Regions from separate parts of the Homo sapiens genome. Here region 2 is linked to region 1. Evidence: promoter capture Hi-C in human tissues and cell types (Jung and others, 2019). All regions are on one chromosome and are shown on one strand. Each heading gives the region's core, a stretch centred on a gene start or on the middle of the fragment in contact. The rest is flanking DNA. Distances are from core to core; before and after follow the strand shown.

Region 1 (2,700 bases), core at 112-2,611:
GTCTGGGCCAGACATAGTGTCTCACACCTGTAATCCCAGCATTTTGGGAGGCCGAGGCAGTGGATCGCCTGAGGTCAGGAGCTCGAGACCAGCCTGCTCAACATAGCGAAATCCCATCTCTACTAAAAATACAAAAATTAGCTGGGCACAGTGGTGTGTGCCGGTAATCCCAGCTACTCGGGAGGCTGAGACAGAATTGCTTGAACCTGGGAGGTGGAGGTTGTGGTGTGCCAAGATCGAGCCACTGCACTCCAGCTTGGGCGACAGAGCGAAATTCCAGCTCAAAAATAAATATATAAATAAACAAACAAACCAACTAAACCATCATTGCCCTCCCCAGCCCTCCCAGCCCAGAGACCCCCATCCCTTGTCAGCCATCCCCCCTTACCTTCTGGACAGGGACAAGTGTCCCTCATTTGGAAAAGAATTAAGGAGGGGTAACAGCAGACTAGGGAGGCCTGGGGTCCTCCACACGCCTGTGTGGGGTGACTTTGGCCCCCAGCAACAAGGCAGGCCTGAGGTCTGCAGAGGGAGGCAGCCCACTCCTCAGCCGGGGGCGTCTATCCTCCTCCTGGCCCCATCCCTCACCTGTGGGGGAGGCTAAGTGGGTGTCAGGGCCCTGTCAGAGGGTGAGCCACCCCCGGGGGTGCCCATCGGCCACCAGCCTCCCTTCAGTAGACACCCAGCCCAAGTGACAGCAGTGGCATGGCACTGCTGAGCACAGGGAGCCTCAAGGTCAGTGCCTGGCTCCTGGTATCCTCCGTGGTCCCCAGGACACCCCCACACAGAGGTCCCAGAACCCCCAAAGCTGGCACAAGAGCCCAGGAACACCCTGCCCAGCACCCTCCAGGTCCCTCTTTTAGGATCTGGGTGAGCTAAAGAAGCCAAAAGAAAGGCTGGGCGCGGTGGCTCACGCTTGTAATCCTAGCACTTTGGGAGGCCGAGGTGGGCGGATTGCCTGAGCTCAGGAGTTGGAGACCAGCCTGGGCAACACATTGAAACCCCATCTCTACTAAAATACAAAAAAAATTAGCCAGGTGTGGTGGCGTGCACCTGTAGTCCCAGCTACTCGGGAGCCTGAGGCAGGGGAATTGCTTGAACCCAGGAGGCAGAGGTTGCAGTGAGCTGAGATTGCATCACTGCACTCCAGCCCGGGTGACAGAGTGAGACTCCATCTCAAAAAAAGAAAAAAAAAAAAAAAAAAAAAAAAAAAAGAAGCCAAAAGAGGGTCTTCGGCCCAGCCCGCCCCTCCCCAACAGCCCTGGGTGTGGCAGGGAGCCTGACCAGTTCCCTCCAGCCTGCGTCATGGAGCCCTGGGCGTGGCTGCAGGGTTTAAAGAGCCGACCCACGTGCCCAGCAGCCTCCTCAGATCCGTTCTCTGCGCTGCCAGCTCAGGTGAGCCCTCGCCAAGGTGACCTCGCAGGTGAGCAGGCGTCCACTTTGGGGCTGCTGGGTGAAGGGGGTGGGTGCCCAAGAATTCTGAGTAATGAGGAGCCTGTTGAGGGGTCTGAGGACAGATATGGCTGCAGCAGCCGCTTGAAGGCCTCCTGCTTTGCACCCACTATCATATGGATGGTGGGTTGGGGGTTGGAGGAAACAGAAGCCAGCCCTTGGCTAAAGAATATATGAGCTGGTGGGGTATACCTCTGGTCCCAACTGCTTGAGATACTCAGGTGAGGAGATCACCTGAGCCAAGAGAGTTCAAGGCTGCAGTGAGCCGAGATCACGCCACTGCTCTCCATCCTGGGTAACAGAGCAAGACCCTGTCTCAAAAAAAAAAAAAATAGTAATAATAATAATAATAAAATAAAAAATGTGACCTAGAGTTGAGACCCTCGTATTCCAGGAACTCCAGGTTGGTGAAGGTAGAGAGACCAGTGAAGGCTGGGGGAAGCCAGCTTTGGAGACTGCTCCTAGCCCAAGAACCGATGTTCAGAAGCAGTGCCTAACAGTCTCTCCCTCCAGTGCCTCCCTCCCACTGCAGAAGGACCATGTGTTTATTTATGGATGTATTTATTTATTTATTTTGAGATGGAGTCTCCCTCTGTTGCCCAGGCTGGAGTGCAGTGCCAGGATCTCGGCTCACTGCAACCTCCACCTTCCAGGTTTAAGTGATTCTCCTGCCTCAGCTTCCCAAGTAGCTGGGAATACAGGCGCCTGTCACCACACTCAGCTAATTTTTGTATTTTTAGTATAGATGGGGTTTTGCCATGTTGGCCAGGCTGATCTTGAACTCCTGACCTCAGGTGATCCACCCGCCTCAGCCTCCCAAAGTGCTGGGATTATAGGTGTGAGCCACTGCGCCCGGCCTATGGATGTATTTATTGTAACAGGTTTTTAGTGCTTACTGTGTGCTAGGCATAGTTCTTAGGCTTGACAAATAGTAGTTCACGTAATTCCATCGCTATAACCTTATGAGGTTGCTACTATTCTGATGATCCTCCTTTTACAGGACACTGGTGAAGGAGCAGTGAGGAACCTGCAGAGTCACACAGTTGGTAAGTTGCTAAGAAGGGACCCAGCCCAGACAGCTGGCCCTGGATCTGTGATCTCATCAGGAGGCCAGAGCTGGGTACAGCAGATGATGACAATGGCTTCAGTATTGAAAACTTGACCACACTAGGCTAACAATATGCAGAGGGCTGGGAGGGGGCCTGCGCTCAAAGACTCAGCCTCCCTAAGGACAAGTAAATGGGGTCC
Region 2 (2,700 bases), core at 64-2,563, 830 kb before region 1:
AGCAGATGGACTGATAAAACTGGGAGTGGAAAAACTGGGAAGGAAATACATGGGGGCCGGGGTGGGGATAAGGGGTTTGAAAAGCTCCTGCATAAACCAGGGAATTGAGGTCATGTGCAAGGCCAGGGCAATATGCACGCTCACAAAAAACCTGAGAGGAACCTAAGCTTTCAGTCTGGTTGACCTTCAGGCTCAGTGTAAGCAGGAAGTAAAGCTTTACACAGAGATGTAAATGGCCTGGCAAACCATTACAAGAGCGCCCTAAAACAGGGCAAATATGCAAAGACCAGAATAGTTTTTTGTTTTGTTTTGGCTTTGGGCATTTAAAGAAATCTCTGTCAGATCACAAACTGACCACTAAACTAAGGGAACAGAGGTTTCTGTGACCATGTACAACAAAGAACTTTACAAAAATAGTTTTGAAAAGTCACAAAATAAACAAACAATGCAAAATAAACAGCAACAACAAATTCTGGGGAAAAGAATCTGATTTCTAGAATTAACACATTTTAATATTCAAAATGTTCAGTTTTCAATAAAAAATTATGAGGAATGCAAAGAAGATAATATGACCCACAGACACACAGAAAAAAGAAATGAATAAAACCTGTCCTCAAAGACACCTTTGTTATTGGTCTTACTAGATAAAGAATTTAAATCAACTGTTCTAAATGTGCACAAAAAGCTAAATGAAACCAGACAACTAACAGAAAGCAGGTGAGCGATGCCCTGCCAAATATAAAATATTAATATACAGAACAAAATTACAAAAATGTAATTAGGAATGTCTGGAGCTGACAAGTACAAAAACTAAATTTTTTTAAAATCAGTCAAAGGATTTAATAAAAGATTGGAGCTCAAAGAGAACAAAGAATCAGCAAAATTGAAGACACTGATGGAGATTACTCATTCTGTGGAGCAGAGAAAAAGAATGGTGAAAAATGGACAGTGCCTAAGAGATCTATGAGACAACATCAAGCATACCAACAAGTTAATAACAAGAGTTGCTAATGAAGAGGAGAAAAGGGAACCAAAAATATCTGAAGAAATAATGTCTGAAGACCTTCTAAACTGATGAAAGACATGAATCTCTATGCCCAAGACTCTCAAGAAACTATAATTAGGATAAGCTCAAAGAACTTCAAACTGAGAGAAATAATAAATTGTCACAAGACAAAGAATCTCAAAAGTAGCAAGAGATAAGGGACTAACCATGTACAAAGGATCTGAAATAAGATTAACAGCCAGACTTTTATTAGGAACCATGAAGGCCAGAGGCAGTAGGATAATGGCACCTTTCAAGTGCCAAAAGAAAAAAAATATATATCAAAAATTCTACATTTGGCAAAACTGCCTTTCAAAAATGAAAGAGAAATTAAAACATTCCTAGATCAACAGAATCTGAGAGAATTTATTAGTACTAGATCTGTCCTACAAGAAATGCAAAAGGAAGTCCTTAAGGTTGAAACAAAAGGACATTAGACAGTAACTCCAATCGAAACACACAAAAAATTCAAATGGTAAAAGTAACTACTGTAAGTAAATGCAAAAGCCAGTCTTATTGTATTCTTGGCTTTTATGTTCTCTCTTTTTTCTATATGATTTAAAAGACAAATACATAAAACAATAATTATAAATCTATGGTAATGTGCACGCTATTTATGAAGGCATAAAATGAGACAATAAGAAGACAAAGGACAGGGACAAAGCCGTATAGGAGGAGAGTTTTTATATAATATTAAGGCTTAGTTAGTATTAATGCAAGCTAGATTGTTATAAATTCAAGATGCTAATTGCAATTCCAAGTATTAACACTAGGTAAATAATGACTACAAACAAATACAAAAGGAATTAAAATGGCACATTAGAAAAAAACAAACACAAAAGAAGGCATACACAGAAAAACTGAAAACAAAAAAGATGTAATACGTATGGAAAACAAATAGCAAAATGGTATAAGTCCTTTATCAGTTTATAATTTACTCTAAATGTAAATAAACTAAACTCCCAACTAAAAGACAGAAATTGGCAAAATAGGCTGGGCATGGTGGCTTACACCTGTAATCCCAGCACTTTGGGAGGCTGAGGTGGGCGGATCACGAGGTCAGGAGTTTGAGACCAGCCTGACCAATACAGTGAAACCCCATCTCTACTAAAAAAAAAAAAAAAATACAAAAATTAGCCAGGTGTAGTGGTGTACACCTGTAATCCCAGCTACTCGGGAGGCTGAGGCAGAAGAACTGCTTGAACGCTGGAGGCAGAGGTTGCAGAGAGTCAAGATCGCACCACTGCACTCCAGCCTGGGTGATGCAGTAAGACTCTGTCTCAAAAAAAAAATAAAATAAAATAAATAATAAAAATAAAAATAAATTGGCAAAATAAATAAAAATATATGATCCAGGTATATATTGTCTACAAGACACTCTCTTTAGATACAAACACACAACACAATAGGTTGAAATTGAAATGACAGAAGAGGATAGTAACCTAAAGAATGCCAGGGTGGCTATACTGAGACAAAAGAGACTTTAAATCAAAAATTGTTACAAGAGAAAAACACTACATATTGATTAAAAAAAAAAAAAAACTAAGTCTACAAAGAAGACATAGTAACAGAAATAGAAATAAATCATCCTGAAGTTTACATAGAATTTCAAGGGATCTCAACTAGCCAAAATAATCTTGAAAACCCATGCATGT

The links. The method cuts DNA at HindIII sites, captures the fragments that hold promoters and counts their contacts. A contact is called where the count stands out against the background at its distance.
Region 2: a contact is called between a fragment that was not itself captured here and the fragment with the promoter of FXYD4 in region 1, in 1 of the 25 tissues and cell types used here (dorsolateral prefrontal cortex).

What each region holds. Positions count from the first base shown.
Region 1 is chr10:43,370,275-43,372,974 of GRCh38, forward strand. FXYD4 (FXYD domain containing ion transport regulator 4) reads left to right here and starts at 1,362. Exons shown (of 9, transcript NM_173160.3): 1 at 1,362-1,423; 2 at 2,453-2,498. The HindIII fragment of the contact is 15,718 bases long and covers 1-2,700 here.
Region 2 is chr10:42,544,079-42,546,778 of GRCh38, forward strand. It overlaps the pseudogene ZNF37BP. Among named protein-coding and RNA genes, the nearest start is that of LINC00839, 70 kb to the left of the region's middle. The HindIII fragment of the contact is 4,235 bases long and covers 1-2,700 here.